Regions from separate parts of the Homo sapiens genome. Here regions 2 and 3 are each linked to region 1. Evidence: promoter capture Hi-C in 16 types of primary human blood cells and fetal thymus (Javierre and others, 2016). All regions are on one chromosome and are shown on one strand. Each heading gives the region's core, a stretch centred on a gene start or on the middle of the fragment in contact. The rest is flanking DNA. Distances are from core to core; before and after follow the strand shown.

The links. Contacts are between HindIII fragments. The CHiCAGO score rates a contact against its expected background, and 5 or more counts as called.
Region 2: a fragment that was not itself captured here is called in contact with the fragment with the promoter of RPGRIP1L in region 1 in 1 of 17 cell types (naive B cells); the score reaches 5.0 in naive B cells.
Region 3: a fragment that was not itself captured here is called in contact with the fragment with the promoter of RPGRIP1L in region 1 in 1 of 17 cell types (naive CD4 T cells); the score reaches 5.1 in naive CD4 T cells.

The regions. Positions count from the first base shown.
Region 1 is chr16:53,702,210-53,705,499 of GRCh38, reverse strand. It overlaps RPGRIP1L (RPGRIP1 like), which reads left to right and starts at 1,641. Exons shown (of 27, transcript NM_015272.5): 1 at 1,641-1,697. It overlaps FTO (FTO alpha-ketoglutarate dependent dioxygenase), which reads right to left and starts at 1,344. Exons shown (of 9, transcript NM_001080432.3): 1 at 1,271-1,344. The coding sequence starts at 1,315. RefSeq lists enhancers at 1,122-1,531, 1,146-1,646 and a silencer at 1,682-1,731. The HindIII fragment of the contact is 16,527 bases long and covers 1-3,290 here.
Region 2 is chr16:53,506,006-53,509,295 of GRCh38, reverse strand. No RefSeq gene overlaps it. Among named protein-coding and RNA genes, the nearest start is that of AKTIP, 4.4 kb to the right of the region's middle. The HindIII fragment of the contact is 3,745 bases long and covers 1-3,290 here.
Region 3 is chr16:53,546,611-53,549,900 of GRCh38, reverse strand. LOC105371269 (a long non-coding RNA gene) reads left to right here. Exons shown (of 8, transcript XR_933588.4): 4 at 1,304-1,477; 5 at 1,579-1,635; 6 at 2,947-3,016. Among named protein-coding and RNA genes, the nearest start is that of AKTIP, 45 kb to the right of the region's middle. RefSeq lists a silencer at 2,748-2,927 and an enhancer at 2,485-2,986. The HindIII fragment of the contact is 601 bases long and covers 1,509-2,109 here.

The DNA of each region.
Region 1 (3,290 bases), core at 392-2,891:
TCACTGCCAATATTTGCCTAACATAGAGTAGGCAGCAAATGACATGTGCAAAGGCCCTGAAGCCCGATAAAGTATAGTGAAGAGTGACTTTTAAGAAGGCCAAAGTGACTGGTAGGCAGAGAGCAGAGTGTCATATCCAATGGGGTTGTGAAAGCAGGTAGGGTCCAGATCATGCAGGATCTTGTAGGCAATGTGAAGTTTTGCCTTTATCCTAAGAGCAACAGAAAGCCATGGAATATTTTTAAACAGGTGGTTGGCAGAGTAAGGAGAAAGGAAAGGGACATAATTATATTTGCATTTCACGAAGATCTTACTCTATGGTGTGCAGAAGAGAATGGTAGTTGAGGGAAGGGAGAGAAGGTGGAAGAAGAGTTAAGTTAGGGTGTAGAGTGAGTGTAGGCCAATCAATAGGCTATTCCAACAGTCTATTAAAAAGATAATGGTAGCTTGGTCCAAGGTAGTGGAGATGAAAAAAAAAAAAAGTGGGCATATTCCCAATATACGTAGACAAATCAACAGGATCTGAGTTTGGGAATGAGAGAAAGGAAAACACTCAATGCTTCTGAGCCTCAGTTCTTCATCTGTGAAGCTGGGCTGTTATTTATACTCCATCTGTATAATATCTATCTTGCAATCTGCTGTGACAATGATATGAAATAATTTAAATATTATGCACTTAATACAGTGCCTGACCCACAATAAATGCTTTTTAAAATCTCTGTTGCCATTATTATGGTCATCCCATGGAATGGCAACTACCAGAAGCTGAACATCAAAGGTAGAGAGGAGCAATGTAGTTAAAGATTCATATCCACAGCGCTAAAAGACACAAACTGTTATCAGCCGGTCACGGAGACAATTGTTCCAAAGAAACACAGCTGACTGCACAGATATTTCATCTAAGCCGATCTCAGTCCTCAGAGACCATTATGAGAAAGCACAGCTGGTATGATCACAGTCATCTGAGAATCCGGTAAACTGAGGCACAGGGATGGCGACAAATTTAACCAAGGAATAGATGCAGAAGAAGGACAAGGAAATGGGTATCTTGCTTCTCATTTTTGAGCCGATCCAACAAGACTCGGCCTGCATCCTGAAGAGCACGAATTTGTAACATCCCCTCTAATATCTCCAGGTCCCTTGCTGACAAGGCCCTGTCATCCCTTAGTTTAACACCGCGCATCCGCTCGCCATCAAACCAAGCCCTTCCGGTTCCCTGATCCTTGCTCACAGCGCACGAAGATCTCCAGGCCCCGGGAGCCCGACATACCTTAGCTTCGCGCTCTCGTTCCTCGGCAGTCGGGGTGCGCTTCATGCTGCCACTAAAGCCGCCTTCGCCACCGCAAGCTGCGTAGATCCCTCGCCCTGGACCCCGCCTCCTGCATGTAGTTCTCTCAGCGTCCTGCTCCCGTCTGGAGCTATTCTCCCTCTGAGTAGAAAAAACTACAACTCCCAGGATGCACCGCGGCGACACCCGCGAGCGCCACGGGATTTAGCACAGGAGAATTTCCCAGGTCCGACAGCTGGAAGAGCGTAGTCCGCTACCCCGCGAGCAAACAGGCTAGAGTCCAAGGAGAACTACATTTCCCAGGAGGCTACGGGAGCCTGCCATGTTTCTCCCGTGCTCCTCTCGGCCAGCCGCCCGCCACGCTGTCGGCGCTATAGCAACGGTAGCTAGCTGCAGGGCCAGTGGCACGGTGAGTACCCGGGAGGATGGGGGAGGATGAGGGTGGGTGGAGGTTGCTGACCCTCCCCACTGCAGCGCGGGCCGGGGTCCTAGGGTCCGCTCTGCCGCCTGGAGAAGGCCCTGGAGTTGGCCCTGGAGTTCTGCTGGCGTGAAAGCAGCCCAGCCCAAGACACCTCCACATCCTCAGGCCTGAATCACAGGCCGCCCTTTATCCCCACGTCCAGGACCAATTTGAAATGTTATATCCCAGCCATGAAGGTGAGAGTTGATGCTGCTAATTGCCATCTCTATCCAGATCCTGCAAGTTGTAGGTCCCTAACACAGTTTGCTCATTTGCCCTGGATTAGGAGTTGGTTGGTAGACCCTAAACCTCCTGAGTGGTCTATTGTTTGCTTAATTATATATTATTTGTTTATCATGTGATTACCTCCATAACTTGCTAGCTTCATAAAGGCGGGGGTTTTGCTTGCCATTTTAATCTCAGTACCTGATATTCATTTATTCATTCAATAAATATTTTTTCTTTATTCTTTTTTTTGTGTGTGTGACAGGTTCTTGCTCCGTTGCCCAGGCTGGAGTGCAGTGGTAAGACCTCAGCTTACTGCAAACTCCTCCTCCCAGGTTCAAGCGATTCTTCTGCCTCAGCCTCCCGAGTAGCTGGGATTACAGGCGTGTGCCACCACACCCAGCTAATTTTTGTATTTTTAGTAGAGACAGGGTTTCATCATGTTGGCCAGGCTGGTCTCGAACTCCTGGCCTGAAGTCAGCCGCCCGTCTCGGCCTCGCAAAGTGCTGGGATTACAGGTGTGAGCCACCACGCACAGCCAATCATTCAATAAATATTAATGTTGGTTCCCACCCTGTACCAGGCACTGTTCCTGAACAGTTGTGAACAAGACTAATACCCGTCTCAAGATGTTTATCCTTTTTTAGTGGAGACAAACAATAATTTTATCTGATAACTTCAGATAGAGGCAGTTGCTATAAGAGATACAAGCCATGCTTGGTGGCACGCACATGTAGTTCCAGCTACTCGGGAGGCTGAGGTGGGAGGATCACTTGAACCCATGAATTCAAGGCCAGCCCGGGCAACATAGCAAGACCCTGTCTCAAAAAAAAAAAAAAGAAAAGAAAAGAAATAAACAGTGAAGAAATGTAAGGAAGACTACTCTAACATAGGATGGTCAGGGAAAACCTGTCTGAGGAAGTGAACTGAGCTCCAAAGATTAAGGAACCAGCTAATACAAAGGCCTTGAGCAAGACAAGGGTATGGGGGGTTCGAGGAAAGTAAAGAATAATGTAAGTGAAGCATAGTGAGCAAAGAAGGATAACATAAGATGGTGTTGGAGAGGCATTGCAGCATTGTGCAGGGTTTTTCAGCTTCTACACTATTATTAACATTTTGGGCTGGATAATTCATTATTATGTCTCCTAAGCACTGTAAGATATTTAGCATCATCCATGGCCTCTACTCACTAGATGCCAGTAGCATCCCGCTTCCTTGTTGTGACAACCAAAAATATCACCAGACACAACTATTAATACTTTCAACTACCACCTTAAGTGAGTTAACTAATCTGTGTCTCAGCTTCCTCATTTGTAA
Region 2 (3,290 bases), core at 460-2,959, 200 kb after region 1:
AATATTATTGGGAGGAAAAAGTGGGAGGGCTGTTCTAGAATAGAGATTAAAGGGATATAACCAAATGCAATGACTGAATCTTGATTGAATCCTGGTTTAGAAAAATAACTGTCTTAGTCTGTTTGGACTGCTATAACAAAATACCATAAACTGGGCAGCTTATAAACAGCAGAAATTTATTTCTCATAGTCCTGGGGGCTGGGAAGTCTGAGAGCAAGGTGCTGGCAGTTTAGGAGTCTGGTGAGTTCTTGCTTCTTCAGGGATAGCATCTTCTCACTGCGTCCTCATGTGGTGGAAGAAGGAAGATCGCTCTCTGGGGTCCCTTTTATAAGGGCACAAATCCCATGTATGACTAACTCATAACCCAGTCATCTCCAAAAGGCTTCACCTCCAAATACCATTACATTAGTTATTACGTTTTCAACATATAAATTTTGAAGAGATAAACATTCCGTCCTTAACCATAAAAGTGTTTTCTTGGTGTGTGACAATTAGGGCAATTTTAATAGGTCTGAAGGCTAGGTGCGGTGGCTCAGGCCTGTAATCCCAGCACTTTGGGAGGCCGAAGTCGGCATATTTTGAGACCAGCCTGGCCAACAGGGCGCATCCCTGTGTCTACAAAAAAATACAAAAGTCAGCTCGGTGTGGTGGTATGCACCTGTAGTCCCAGTTACTCGGGAGGCTAAGGTGGGAGGATTGCTTGAGCCCAGTATGCTGAGGTTGCAGTGAGACACTGCACTCCAGCAAGGGCAACAGAGCAAGATTGTGTCTCAAAAAACAAAAAAAAAGCATACAAAGTCTAGGAATGTGGAGTTAATTTTCTTAGGGGTGGCTGTGGCAGTGTAGTTCTGTAAGGGAATGTCCTTGCTCTGAAGAGAAACACCCTGGGAAGCACTAAGGAGGGAAGGACATGATGACGGCAACTTATTTTTAAATGACTCAGGAGGAAAACTAATAGATGAAATACGGCAAAACATTAACATTGTTGAATCTAGATGGTGAGTGTAAGGGAGTTTGTTGTCCTCTACTCTTCGGTATGACTGAACATTTTTATAGTAAAATATTAGAATAAATGATGGTCACGGTGTCATTTGCTTTGGGTGGGTGACTCTCGAGATCACTGAGCTTCCCTATCGTTCACGGAATCACCATTTACCTATTGCAAGAAAGAAAAGGTGTCTGTGCCTGGAATAGTACCCTTCCCTGAAAGAGTATTGCTTTCTCTCTCTTTGGTTTTCTGAGTGTGCCACTCTAGATAAAACTAACTCAAGCCTTTATCATCATTCCAAATGCTTTGAGACCACAGAGTGAAGTGGTTTCCCAAAGATAAACTGAATCAAAGAGAACACTGCTCTTATGGCTGTGGGTACAGTCATCAGCGTGCTGAGGGAGTGGGGATTATTTGCGGTGTCAGACCACGTTCAAAATGCTGTTTGATTATAAAAGGAAATCAGTTCTCTTCAGCCCTGAATGAGCAGCCGTATCATATATTGGTTGCTTTTCCTTAAGACATAAATATCCGCAGTGGTCCATCAGCTACCCTGATTTCATTTTGAAATGTTGTAGTCTGTCTGTAAAATTCATTCCTCCACCCGCCCACCCACTTGCTCAGGGATAGGAGTTATGGGTAATGGGATAGGGAGGAAAACATGATGCAACCAAAACCTGGAAGCACATGTGTGATGTTATAAGCAAGAACCGTATCGCTCGATGAGGCTATGGAAAGGAAGAAAGCCACATCATCCGTCTATAGCAGCATTTCTAAACCTTCAATAATTCTTAAAAGTTTGTGATTTCTGTCTTGTCTGAGGATCATTGTTAACTATAGGACAACTATCTGATCTCCCTTAAATCCATTTACTTAAAAAAAACAACAACATTAAATGCCTACTTTGGTCTCATCCTAAACATTATTACCCATAAAATAATGGCTTTAATGTGCTAAGTATATTTTTTCAAAGACATTAATATGTATAGCTAGATCATCCTCCCATATTTTGAACAGTATATGTAATCAGTGACATGTATACAGGAATCTACTTTTCAGAAAAGGACTTGGGGGCAAATGGATTGCGCTAAAAACATCGGCTTATATGTGTGCCTGTGTATGAAACATATGTATTTTAACAACCTTCAACATTTTATCCTTTCCTTCTTTCTGTGAAGGCCTTTAATAGTTAAGTCAGTGATCTAAACAGCTTTGTACAGTTACTTTTCCGGAGTCCAAAAGATGTATGATTCAGGGAATATTTTGCTGATTAGAACATGAGCAGAAGTCCTGAATACTCAGAGATCACATATCTATTAAGTCTGGATGCAAAAAGAACCTTTTGGTGCAAATATATCAAATATGCTTCAAAAATTGAGAATAGGAAATGTAATATGAAGCGATTTAAAATGTTTTATAGGTAAGGTTTTGGGTCCATTGAGATTTTTCTCAGCACTTTATGTTTTAGTCTTAAAGAAATGGTACCTTGAGGCCACCTCCTCATTTCCCTTTGAATAAATCATCCTGATTTTCATAATGAGTTGCTTTCTTGGTGCAGACCTGTGGGCGTGCAGGTAGGTGTTTCAAATGTACTTTTGTTTCTTCTGTCCTTCATTTGGCAAATATTTATTGCATGCCTACAACATCTAGCTCTTGGGTGCCGGGGAGACAATAGAAAGCAAAAAAATGGTTCCTCCTCAGGAGCTTACAGTGTGGGAGACAGACACTAATAATCTCCCAAATCAACAGCAAATTGCCCCCAAGGAAGTAGTGTTAGAGCTGAGATCTGTGTAGGGGATTGAAGAGAATGAACTGGGCAAAGGGAACGTTCACTGCGAAGGCCCCTTTTGTGGCAGGGCAGGTAGGGGAGCAACTCCCTTCCAAGGAACTGGAAGAATGTCAGAGTGGCTGGAGTCTGCAGCCACCTGGGGCTGGGACACAGCCATGGTGAGGAGTTTGGTCTTTGCCCAATGGGGAACCACTGAAGGGCTTAAATTCCTCAAGAAAATGGAGGTTCTGTCAGCAATGAAAAAGGGAGAAGTGGGTATTAGGTATACAGGCAATAGTGCTTACAGAAACACCCCAAACATACCTACCCAAAACACAACCCAGATTTTCCCATTTCCCACTGTCCCAAACCTGCTTGTGGTTCACTGTTTGTCACCTCAGTGAATGGCCTCACCATCCATCCTGTAGCTCATGCTAAAAATCTAGGTGTCAGCCATATCTGCCTCTTCATCCCCCATACCTAGTCCATGGCCAAGCTCTGTCCACCCCACCTGTATGAATCCATCAGTGTTGC
Region 3 (3,290 bases), core at 560-3,059, 160 kb after region 1:
TCTATTTTAAACCACTGTTTGTTATGAATTGAGTTAAATGTCTTTTTTTTTTTTAACACATTTTCCCTATTTTAACAATGGAAAAAATAAAAGCCCTTAAAATACTAAGATTGCATTTTCTTTCATTCATTCAACAGCTAATTAGCACCTACTGCGTGTCTGGCTCTGTGTTAAGTGCAATAATTAAGTCAGATCTGAATGCATCCTATTATTTACTCATCAGAGGGTATTTTTGCTACTTGTCCTTTATGTCTGGAACATTTCCACAGGAATAGTGAGAGAGGAAGAACCGAGACAACCTGTGAATATAGTGTTTGGGACAAGTTAGAAACACAAGGAACATAGAATCTTTTCATGACAAAGTGGAAGCTGGAAGTCAGTCCCATAAAGGCCAGTAAGATTTTTATCCTGTTCTATTATTTTTTTCCTACTCAGAAGTGGAATTAGTTTTTTCCTACTTAAAAAGTTACCAGCTGAAGTCAGGTGCGGTAATCCCAGCATTTTCGGGGATCGAGGTGGGCAGATTGCTTGCACCCAGTAGTTCAAGACCTTCCTGGGCAACATCGGGAGAGCCCCATCTCTACAAAAATACAAAAATTAGCCATGTGTGGTGGCGCACACCTGTAGTCCCAACTACTTGGGAGGCTGAGGTGGGCGGATCGCTTGAGCCTGGGAGGTTGAGGCTGCAGTGAGCCAAGATCACACCACTGCACCAACAGCCTGGGTGCAGTGGCTCATGCCTGTAATCCCAACACTTTGGGAGGTTTGGGTGGGAGGATCCCTTTAGCCCAGGAGTTTGAGATCAGCCCAGGCAACATAGTAAGACCCTGTCTCTACCAAAAAATATTTTTAAATAGCTGGGTGTGATGGCACATGCCTGTAGTCCCAGCTATTTGGGAGGCTGAGGCGGAAGGATTGCTTGAGCCCAGGAGTTCAAGATTGTAGTGAGCTATGATCACACCACTGCACTCCAGCCTGGGCAACAGAGCAAGACCCTGTCGCTGAAAATAAATAAATAATATTTGCTTTGTGCAGAAAATTTGGAAAACAAGACAAAAAGGAATTTAAAAATCTCAGTTATAATCCTATCAACCAAAGATGACCACTGTTAACTTTACATGGTACTATAATTTTCATTAACCCATAGGAGAGGAACTTTCTTTCATGTCACTGCATATTCCTCTATATGATTTTGAATGGCTACAGAGTATTCTTTCATATGAGCATACCATAATTTACTTATGCCACACATGATTACTGACTTTTAACAATGATAAGGTTTGTACTGATGACATTTCTTAAGATACACTCTTAGCTCTGGAACTTCTGGATCAAAGAGGGCATGTACCTTCAAGGCCTCTGAGACATATATCAAGTTGCCATCCAGGGTCAACCTCCTAGAATTTAACATCGCATCTGAAACCAAAATCTAACTTCAGGAGCCCAGAGCATTCACAGTTCCAGAAAGAGTGTGATGGTAAGTGGTGATCCTTGGTGTTCGGGAAGCTTTGCAGGGCATCCCAGCTGGAGGTAGTCAAAGTTATCAGAATGGTTTTTGATAAATTCTTTACCTTGTAGATGATTTAGACTGGAGTGCCTCCAGGAAAGCAGGAAGCAAGACATGTTTTTAACCTGGTAAGTATTTAGTCAATAGAGCATTACCAAGGGCTCAGGAGATTAAGAAAGACAGGATTATTTTAATGTATCTTCATCACCCAAACCTCACCACTTGTCATGGTTAATATCACCCCTGGCTTATTTTTCCTGTTCCCACATTCTGTCCACAGTTTGTGCCCACAGATACTTTGCCCTTTCCTCTCCTCCATGTCTTATAAGGTGAAGCTGGGTTCCTCTGAGGTCACAGAGCTGTGGTAACTACATCCAGTGGGTGTTAGAAAAAACCCTGGCCCCTCTCAGATGTGAGATGTGGTCTAAGGACTCAATACACTGACTTAGGGAAGACTTGAGCTTTTTTCTTTGGAACTGAAACATTTTCCATATGTTTATATAGAGTTGTGGCAACAACTCAAGGGATATGAAAAGCAGATTTTACAAGAGTATGATTGCACAGCAAAAGTCAGTTTTGGGTTAATTTTGGAAAGAGAAGCTTTGATTTTACTGTGTGCCTAGTAGACAATGTCCCATCAGTCACACACAAAGGAAGAATGTCGGCAGAGAATCCCATAAAGTTAGCACCTAATGTAACTAGCGTTATTGGAAGTTGAGGCAGAGACAAGGGCTGCCCAAGGTCATGGTCACGGTAAGAGGTGGGTGTAAGCTGCCTTTCTGCCTACTGGCTCAGTGATCATTTTAAAAGAGGGTGACTTAACTACAGAAGTAAAATGTGACTGCCTTAGTTGTTAGAGAGCAAGAAGACACTCAACTGCATAAGGGGAACCAGCAGCAGGGCTCCTACTAGAGGCTGGAGTCTCTTGGGAAGAAACAATTTCCCACCATGTGTTCCCTTGCGTGCTTGGCCATGGTAAGGCAGAACATGGAGGGTGAAATCAGACCTCAATCTTTTCTCTGATTCATCTTTCTGCAGGCAAACACCTCTCAGGAGAAGGAGACAAATTGTTGACTTGAAACCCAGTTTTCCTGCCCTGGCAGTAACTGCGCAGAGTGGGGGAGGGTGGACATAACCCTGGGGCCTCTCTGTTTGTATTGAATGTTCTCATCACCCTGACATCCTTGCAGTTTCCCTTTAATGCACGTGTGTCATGCTGAGAGTGCAAATGACTGTCTTGGGAGTTCTGTTTTTCCTACTTGTCCCCGCCTTCCCTGTGTGTCTGGGGCCCATGGATGTTCAATGGGACAGGGGCTAAAGTGGCCGCCAGGGGACAGAGTTGCTCACCTGCATAGCACCTTCCCTCCACCCTCCATGCACTGATGGATGGAACTTCTCATGGGTTTTTGGTCCACCGCACTCTATTTTTTTTGTTCCAGGGTTAAAAACATGGAGAAAGCTTGAGGCAGGGAGGATCTCCTTACTGCAGATAAAAAACCCAAGGCAGAGGTAATCAATACCTCATTCTTTAATAGCTCACAGTGGGACCCTTGAGCACACCAGACAACACAGCAAAGATCATAATTATGCTGATAGAAGTAACTTACAGGGTCAGATGCCTCCTGTCTGTCCATCTCTTAACCATATGATCTTTTACTTTATGTGGCAATGAAATAAAATATTTTGAGGCTGGCATTTCAGTCGGTCCAAGTTACAAATACAGCTGAGCACTTTTCTAAGCCATTATTTCCCCAGCTGGAAGTGAAAGTTAATAATTTTGCCC